Regions from separate parts of the Homo sapiens genome. Here regions 1 and 3 are each linked to region 2. Evidence: promoter capture Hi-C in 16 types of primary human blood cells and fetal thymus (Javierre and others, 2016). All regions are on one chromosome and are shown on one strand. The core of a region is centred on a gene start or on the middle of the fragment in contact, and the rest is flanking DNA. Distances in the headings are between cores, read along the strand shown.

What was found. Contacts are between HindIII fragments. The CHiCAGO score rates a contact against its expected background, and 5 or more counts as called.
Region 1: a fragment that was not itself captured here is called in contact with the fragment with the promoter of XAB2 in region 2 in 1 of 17 cell types (naive B cells); the score reaches 5.3 in naive B cells.
Region 3: a contact is called between a fragment that was not itself captured here and the fragment with the promoter of XAB2 in region 2, in 2 of 17 cell types (M0 macrophages and M1 macrophages). The highest score is 6.5, in M0 macrophages.

The regions. Positions count from the first base shown.
Region 1 is chr19:7,941,332-7,944,282 of GRCh38, forward strand. It overlaps TIMM44 (translocase of inner mitochondrial membrane 44), which reads right to left and starts at 2,335. Exons shown (of 13, transcript NM_006351.4): 1 at 2,276-2,335. The coding sequence starts at 2,320. RefSeq lists enhancers at 1,356-1,899, 1,900-2,442, 2,069-2,438, 2,443-2,951 and a silencer at 2,469-2,538. The HindIII fragment of the contact is 1,655 bases long and covers 502-2,156 here.
Region 2 is chr19:7,627,784-7,630,794 of GRCh38, forward strand. XAB2 (XPA binding protein 2) reads right to left here and starts at 1,762. Exons shown (of 19, transcript NM_020196.3): 1 at 1,694-1,762; 2 at 367-515; 3 at 1-68. The coding sequence starts at 1,744. It overlaps PET100 (PET100 cytochrome c oxidase chaperone), which reads left to right and starts at 2,010. Exons shown (of 4, transcript NM_001171155.2): 1 at 2,010-2,077; 2 at 2,790-2,876. The coding sequence starts at 2,051. It also overlaps a transcript of STXBP2 not described here. RefSeq lists enhancers at 1,674-1,793, 2,054-2,103. The HindIII fragment of the contact is 14,766 bases long and covers 1-3,011 here.
Region 3 is chr19:7,358,986-7,362,138 of GRCh38, forward strand. All of the region lies in intron 1 of ARHGEF18 (Rho/Rac guanine nucleotide exchange factor 18), which reads left to right. Among named protein-coding and RNA genes, the nearest start is that of ARHGEF18, 12 kb to the left of the region's middle. The HindIII fragment of the contact is 1,009 bases long and covers 864-1,872 here.

The DNA.
Region 1 (2,951 bases), core at 79-2,578, 310 kb after region 2:
GGCTAGAGTGCAGTGCTGCGATCTCAGCTCCCTGCAACCTATGCCTCCTGGGTTCAAGCGATTCTCCTGCCTCAGTCTCCCGAGTAGCTGGAATTACAGGTATGCGCCATCACATCCGGCTAATATTTGTATTTTTAGGAGAGAAGCGGTTTTGCCATGTTGGCCAGGCTGGTCTCGAACTCCTGACCTCAGGTGATCCACCCCTCCCCCGGTTTTCCAAAGTGCTGGGATTACAGGCATGAGCCACTGCACCTGGCCTCACTGGCCAATTTGTATCTTATGCCTGATGCATGCCGGGCACTCTGTAATCTTCCCAAAGTCTGAGAAGCAAGCAGAAGCTGGTGGAAAGAGAAAATGCTGTGTCTGTACCTCCAGGGCCTACATCTATCCTCGTGCCCCTGAAACTGGGGGAAAACGGACAGGTCCCAGGAAATGCCAACCCATGGGGGGAAGAAGGCTAAATGTACAATTTAATCCCTTAGTCTGAAAGTAGGCACTCTAAGCTTCTATGCTAGTGGCAAGCAGTCTTCTCTTGCGAGCCCACCCCATTTCTGCCAGCCTCCAAAGATGAGAGAACTGGATTTTTCAGACACAAACATCGATAATGTGTTGCCCCAGGGACAACTCTGGAATAAACCTACAATGTCCTCCTCAAGGGTTGAGCTATAAACAGAGTAATTTAGGGGAGTCGCTCTGGGCAAAGACTGGGCTGATCTCATGTAAAAGGCACTTGCTGGCTGGGCGCGGTGGCTCACGCCAGTAATCCCAACACGTTGGGAGGCTGAGGTGGGAGGATCACCCGGTCAGGAGTTCGAGATCAGCCTGGCCAACATGGTGAAATCCCGTCTCTACCAAAAATACAAAAATTAGCCGGGCGTGGTGGCACACACCTGTAGTCCCACACACCTGTAGTATTGCTTAAACCCGGGAGGTGGAGGGTGCAGTGAGCCGAGATCTTGCCTTAAGTTCTGTGCAGGCACTGAGCTGGTGGCTCATGCCTGTAATCCCGATACTTTGGGAGGCTGAGGCGGAAGGATCGTTTGAGCTCAGGAGTTTGAGACCAGCCTGGGCAACATAGCTAGACCCTGCCTCCATAAAAAATTGGGGGAAAAAAAAAAAGCTCTGTGCAGGTCCTGTTCAGCTCGGCACCCTGTCACCCAGCACAGAACCTGGCGTGTTGATGTCAAAAGACCAGGTACAACTTCTCCACCATTTCCACATTTCCTGGGCCGTTTTTCTCTCTGTTCTCTGCCTCCTACCTCTGAGAACCCTATGCAACATCCCAAACTTACACAGGTGCCTACTATCTCCTGTATTTACTTGAGGATAACTTTTTTTTTTTTTTTTGAGACGGAGTCTCCCTCTGTTGCCCAGGCTGGAGTAAAGTGGCAGGATCTCGGCTCACTGCAATCTCCGCCTGCCGGGTTCAAGTGATTCTCCTGCCTCAGCCTCCCAAGTAGTTGGGATTACAGGAGCGCGCCACCATGCCCGGCTAATTTTTTTGTATTTTTAGTACAGATGGGGTTTTAGTAGAGATGGGATTTCACCATGTGGGCCAGTGGATCTCGAACTCCTGACCTCAGGTGATCCACCTGAGGCTGAGGCAGGAGAATCGCTTGAACCCGGAGGCAGAAGGAGGCAGAAGTTGCAGTGAGCCGAGATCGCGCCATTGCACTCCAGACTGGGCGACAAGAGCGAAACTCTGTCTCAAAAAAAAAAAAAAAAGAGAAAAAAGAAAAAACGAAGAGCACGAGCAATATGAAGTACTACTTTCTGAGTGCGCCTTACACGTCTTGACTGCCACTGCCCTGTGGACCCAAGAGCCTGCTAGGGCGCGAACCACCTCTCGCACATCCACAATGAACGTTAGAAGAAACGAGACAAGAAATGCTCTCGGTAGAGAACTTGGCATTTAACCGCGAGCTGTGAATTTCACGTTTTTTTGCCTTCCCCTCTACTTTTTTCCACGGGACGCCGCCGCCCCGGCTACCATTCTCTCTCCTGTATACGTGGAGTCTGATCAGAGGGCGAAGGGTGATCAGCTCCCTCCCAGGTCCCGCGCATCGCCGCCCCCTGCCCGGTAAGCTCGGTCCCCGCCCTCAGGCCACGCTCTGTGCCCCCTGTCCTGGCCTCTGCTACCCAAAGATCTAACCCCAAGCTTTCTAAGGAGCCCAAGCAAGGGTCGCGAAGGCCAAGGGTCTGAGAAGAAAGCCTTGGTGGCCGAAGGCCCAGAAGACCCCTAAGCTCGCCCTGCCAGCGCCGCACCGCCGCTCACCCGTGGACAGCGGCACCAGCCACTCCGCAGGGCCGCCGCCGCCATGTTGGAGAATCGTGTGACCTTCTCGCGGCGCGGCCCGGTTGCGTCATCCGCCGCTTCGGCCTAGAGCCGCGCAAGCCTGAGAAAAGCCGCTCCAGGAGCGGGGTTTCGGGTAGGGAGAGCCCTCCGATTGGGTCCGTCATAGGGCGGGGCATTAAAAGGGTAGGGAATGCCTAGAGAGCTTGACCTCTGATAGGGCAGTGTTTTGGAAGGACGGGGCCCGTGACTGGATGTGGCCCGGGGGAGGGCACTCCTGGGAGGGTCAGATCTGTGATTGGGCGCGACTACGAGGGGGCGGAGCCCAGGGGCGTGTATTCCGTCACTTGCGGTGATTCGGCTACAGAACGCGCCGGGCGCTGGTGGCAGGTGGTACAGGCACGTGGATCCACCGACCACAAGGACGGATTCGATTGGATTCTGATTGACCGGCGGACCAGCTCCAGAGTAATTGTCTATGGCTGCCCCTGCAATGACTGATTGATTGACAATGGCTGAGAGACCAGCAAGTGAGTCGCTCCGAGAAAGCGAAGGAGCCCACTCTTGTGCGGCGCTTTGGGAAGACGCCTGTTGGTTTTGACCCCGAATAAGAAGAGGAAGCTGAGAGCGGGCTGACTGTGGTCCAGTCCTACTTCGA
Region 2 (3,011 bases), core at 512-3,011:
GGTCGGTCACACAGCGATGCTTCACCTGTGCCCGACGCGCCTTCAGGTATCGGTACCAGAGTTTGTAGCTGGGGAATAGGAGGGGACAGATGCTGATCGGTCAGCTTTATGGACACCCCCAGAACCATTTGCCCTGCCCCAGTTGGCAAATGTGGGAAGAAGGGGTGTGGGAGGGGTGACATGTCTCAGCAATGACAGGGACAGACTGGGACATCAGAGAAGGTGTGCTGACCCATCAAGGGATGTACAGGTCAGTGATGAAACACGAAGCAATCACCCGGGACCCGGGACCCACTTGGCAGTTTTGTTATAACTGGACCAGGTGGGGTGGGGGCTGGTGGGCAGGGCAGCTGGAGCCATTCCCACCTGCAGGGCAGCAGCTTGAGTGCCCGCTCGTATAGCTGATTGAGCCTGGGCTTCGGGGCGCCCTGTTTGAACTCGATGTAGCGAAGCCAGCATTTGACAGAGAATTGGTTCCGCATGATTTCCTCCTCATAGGGGAGGTCCTCTTCCTCCTGCCAGGGCCAGGGAATGGGAAGAAGAGAGGCCTACCCTCAGAGCCTGTGTGCAGCACCATCCCACTGCTGGGGCTCAGGTCCAAACTCCGGACTTTTACCTAGATCCCACCACCCACCAAGGAAGTCAGGTCACCAGATGCCCAGGCACCAAACCAGATGCCCGACACCAAGACAGTGGCCCAGACCTTTACCCCTCAGAATTCAACTACCCAAAATCGAACCCAAATCATCAGACTTCTCAGTCATTAGGGCTCTGGGCCAGGAATGAGTCCGCATCACCACTCGCTTTCTGCCCCAGATGGTCAGACTCCTTAGATACCAAGGCCCTGGCCCAGATGCCAGTCCTGGACACCAGACCCCACTTCTTCAAAACGTGCCTCTTCCCAGACACCAGGCCTTTGGCCCCTCAGACTCCCACTGTCACCATCTGACCCATCTCCACCCCAGGCCCAGATGACCAGATCTTTACCCCAGCCACCAGGGCTCTCAGGTCCAGATTCCAAGCCACTAGCCCCGCCCCCAGGATCCCACTAGCCAGCGTCTAGCTCAACTCTGCCCCAGAAATTAAAAGCTAGGCCTTTATCTCACAGGAGGAGTTATACACCAGAAGCCAAGCCTTTAACTCTGCACACCAAGAATCTGGTGAAGATGTCACGCCTCTACTCCAGAGAGTAAGTATTTCACTGGCCATCGCCTGACAAGCTCCACATCACCAGGGTTCTTCTAGCCTGGCCACCACCCCAGAAACTGTCATGCTGCAGTCCAGGCCTAGAGACCGCTATCCAGAAAACCAAGCCTTCATCCCAGAAACCAGAACCCTGGCCTCGTAAGCAAGCCTTTACTTCAGACACCGATCTTCACCTCTCAAGGTTCAGTTATGCGATCTTCCTCCTCTCCCATTCCCTGCACGCCCCCATTTCCGCCCCTGGTTCGGGAGGCTAGACGCTTCCCTTCGACAGTGGTTTTCTACTCAGACCCGAAGATACAACACCATATTTTTACTCCTGGACAGTTCGGTGCGGACATGACGATCCGGTCTCTGGCCCATTAGGGTTCCCAGACCTTGGCCTGGCAGTTTCGGCCTAAATCTCCTTGCCGACCCAGCCTCGATCCCCTGCGGCGTCCAGGTCCCAATGCCCCAACGCAGGCCACCCCCGGCTCCTCTGTGGACTCACGAAGACAAGGTCCGGCCGCTCGGGCCGCGAGAGTCGCGCCATCACCACCATTTTTCTGGATGCCCAGGTACAGGAGAGAGTCGCGCGCTTATGACGTCTACCACTGACGGCCCGCCCCTCCGAGCCAGACCCGTTTTCTATTGGTTAAATCATTTTTGACGGACAGGCCCACGTTATTGACTTCTTTTCGACGACGCCAGCGACCGGAAGCAGAATAGAGGCGCCAGAAGATGCGCCATCAGGATACACATTGGCCAATCAGCTTCAGCAATGGAGCGTGCAAAACACCAGTGAGCTTCTGTCTTGCTGGAGGGTCGGCTTTGGGCGGAACTGGCTTTGTTGACCGGGAGAAACGAGATGGGGGTGAAGCTGGAGATATTTCGGGTCAGTGGACACAGGAGTGGGTTGGGAGGCTGGGCAGGGGATCTTCCTGGATCTGAAGATGAGGTTGGAAATGGGGGGACTTCAAAGGAAGAGGGAGCTCCAAGGAGAAAGCTCTTAAGATTTGAGAGGAACCTTTCTGGTTGGAAATCCAGGAGAGGGGACGCTGGGCTGGGGGGGTTCTCGGATTTGGGCTTCTGGGTTTGGGGGCTGTGAGAGGGCTGGTCCGAGGAAGGACCTCAGAGAGGGGTGAGCTGAGAAGGGGGCTCTAAAGAAGGAAGACTTAAGATCCTGGGGGAGCTCTCGGGCTCGTGGTGGGTGGGTGTCTATGACAGGGAGATTCCTAGACTTCGAGAAGTGGAGTTGAAGAGTGACGCCTCCTGGGTTTGGGGGTGCTCCCGGGATCTTAAGTGGGGATGGGTAATGAGGTCTCGAGGAGATGCTTTTGATTGTAGCTGGGGCGTCTGTGTGTCTGTCTGTGTTTGAGAGGAAGACTCCAGCTCAGAGGGAACTTTCAGGAATGAGGCCTCCTGGATTATAGGAGTTAGGTTTTAGGGTGCGAGGTTTCTGTACCCTTGGTGGGAGTTCTGGGATTCTTGGGTCGGCCGTAACGAGGCGCTTCTGGACTCTGCAGTAGGATGGGTCCCCCAGGCTCTGAGGAGCCTCTGCACATTGCTTGGGGGGAGCTCACCTCACCCACCCTCTGCCATTCCAGATGATAATCTACCTCACTTTCCCTGTGGCTATGTTCTGGGTTTCCAATCAGGCCGAGTGGTTTGAGGACGATGTCATACAGCGCAAGGTGGGCATAAGAGGAGTGTTTGAGGGTTCATTCCAGGGGTGGGAGAGGGTGTGGGGCAGCAGTCTGCTGGGGACTAATGTCTGCCTCCCATAAGCCGACCCTGCCCTGATGTGGGGCTCTGGAGGCCTTTGGCTC
Region 3 (3,153 bases), core at 118-2,617, 270 kb before region 2:
GCTAGGCAGAGCAATCCAAAGTCCTATGGCTAAAATTGTCTGCAGAGGATCTGAGACAGAGCCCTCAGTTGCCAGGCAGGAAGAGTGGTAGGAACAGCACAGAGATACCAGGAGAATGGTGAGTTGGGTGTGCATGTGTGTGACAGGGAGGTAAGAGGACAGGCTGAGGAGGGCTCTGAATGTCATTCTAAGGGGACTGGAGTCTATAGGGGTGGGGATCAGTAGAAGGGGAGTGACCATCAGAGGGTTATATCAAAAGGACACACCAACTCCAGGACAGAAGATGGACTACAGGGGAGAGACTGGTAGCTGAGGATCAGTGACAAATGTGATTGGCAATCGTTTGGGGCAATTGTGGTTGGTAATTGACAGAGCTCAGTCTATGACACTGGGATTAGGGCTTAGCTCATAATATTGGAATCAGGACACAGCCTATGACATCAGGATTGGAGCTCAGTCTATGATGCCAGATCAAGATTCAGTCTATGACACCAGGATTGGGGCTCAGTCTATGATACCAGGATAAGAGCTAAGACTATGACACCAGGATTAGGGCTTAGCCTATGACACTAGGATCAGGGATCAATATATGACACCAGGATAAAGGCTTAGTCTATGACACTAGGAGGGGGGTTCATTCTATGATACAAGAATGAATGCTCAACCAATGACAGCCAGATGAAGTTCAGTCTGTGATATCAGGATCAAGGCTCAGTATATGACACCAGGATCATGGCTCAGTCTGTGACACAAAGATTGGAGTTCAATCTGTAAAACTAGGATCAGAGTTGAGTCAGTCATTGGGAACTAGGATCACAGTTGAGTTCATCATCAGGTCAAGCTCAACCTGTTCCTCGGTCAGAAGCTTCCCTATAAAAACAAAACTCAGCCAGGCACAGTGGCTCATGCCTGTAATCCCAGCACTTTGGGAGGCCGAGGTGGGAGGATCATATGAGACCAGGAGTTCGAGACTAGCCTAGCCAACATGGTGAAACCCCATTTCAACTAAAAATGCAAAAATTAGCTGGACATGGTGGTACACATCGGTGGTCCCAGCTACTCAGAAGTCTGAGACAGGAGAATCGCTTGTACCCAGGAGGTGGAGACTGCAGTGAGCCAAGATGGAACCACTCCAGCCTGGGTGACAGAGCAAGACTCTCTTGAAACAAAACAACAACAACAACAACAACAACAAAACATGCACAATCACACAACCCTGGCATTTCTTTTCTTTTCTTTTTTCATTCTTTTCCTTTTTTTTTTTCTTTGAGACAGAGTCTCACTCTGTCACCCAGGCTGGAGTGCAATGGCACAATCTCAGTTCACTGCATCCTGCCCTTCCCTGGCTGAAGAGATTCCCATGTGTCAGCCTCCCTAGTAGCTGGAATTATAAGCACATGCCACCATGCCCAGCTAATGTTTGTATTTTCAGTAGAGACTAGGTTTCGCCATGTTGGTCAGGCTGGTCTCAAACTCCTCACCTCAAGTGATCCGCCTTCCTCGGCCTCCCAAAGTGCTGGGATTACATGTGTGAGCCACTGGGCCCGGCCAACCCTGGCCTTTCACCTTTGATCTTTGGATCCCAGACCTTCAGGGTTCACAGATACAGGGCATGAGGTCCTGCAGGCTACAGGAGGCCTCAGGCCTCCACAAGGACCCTGTCCAGTGAAGCAAGCCAACCCTGCAGGCTCTCCTCCAGCCCTAAGGGGACTTGGCTGAGGAATGGGACTGCCTTTCCCCTCCCAAGCTCCCACCAACCTCCAGGACCCTCCCCCACATCTGGCTTTCCTCCTCCTTCACAGCCTGCTTGTTTCGTTTCTGTGAGTCATAGATGCTGCTTCGGCTTCTGGGTGGGGAAGAGAACAGATGCAAAGCTTAACAACAGCAGCTGAACAGAGTCCCTCCAACCAGCCCGGGAGGGCAACCTGGAAAGCAGTGATGGTGGAAACCCTGGCATTGCTCGTTACTGTCCAGCCACTCATCTGTGAATACAGGTGGCATCAGGGGGCAAATTTACCTTGAAGCAATGGAAACTGAAGCTTCAGGCCCCATGTGTACCTGCCCCATCCAAAGCTCTGCAAGAGGCTCCAACAAAAAACTTTTTAGGAACAGCTTTATTGAGCTACCATATACTTCACCCATTTAAAGCATACAATTCAGTGGTTTTAGGCCAGGTGCAATGGCTCATGCCTGTAATCCCAGCACTTTGGGAGGCCAAGGCGGGGGGATTGCCTGAGCTCAGGAGTTCCGGACCAGCCTGGCCAACGTAGCAAGACCCCCGTCTCTACTAAAAATAAAAAAAATTAGCCAGGTGTGGTGGTGCATACGTGTAATCCCAGCTACTCAACAGGCTGAGGCAGGAGAATCACTCAAATCCCGGAGGTGGAGGTTGCAGTGAGCCAAGATGGCGCCACTGCACTCCAGCCTGGGCAACAGAGTGAGGCTCTATCTCAAAAAAGAGACTGCATAACAGCGGTTCCTCAAAAAGCTAAGCATAGATTAGCATGTACTCCAGCAATTCCCTTCCTAGGTAACGACCCAAGACAATGGAAAACACACATCCGTGCAATTGCGTACATCTGTATGCAATTGTTCATGGCAGCGTGATTTGAAATAACCAAATGGTGAAAACGACCCAAATGTCCATCAACAGATCAATGGATACACGAAATGTGGTATCTCCATGCAATTGAATATTATTCAGCCCTAAAACAAATAAAGCACTGGCCGGGCACCGTGGCTCACACCTGTAATCCCTACACTTTGGGAGGCTGAGGCATGCAGATCACCTGAGGTCAGGAGTTCTAGACTAGCCTGGCCAACATGGTGAAACCCCAACTCTATTAATCACACAAAATTAGCCAGGTGCAGTGGTGTGCACCTGTAATCCCAGCTACTCAGGAGGCTGAGGCAGGAGAATGGCTTGAACTCGGGAGGCGGAGGTTGTGGTGAGCTGAGATCACGCCACTGCACTCCAGCTTGGGGGCAACAGAGCAAGACTCTGTGGAAGAAGAAGAAGAAGAAGAAGAAGGAGAAGGAGAAGGAGAAGGAGAAGGAGAAGGAGAAGGAGAAGGAGAAGGAGAAGGAGAAGGAGAAGGAGAAGGAGAAGGAGAAGGAGAAGGAGAAGGAGAAGGAGAAGGAGAAGGAGAAGGA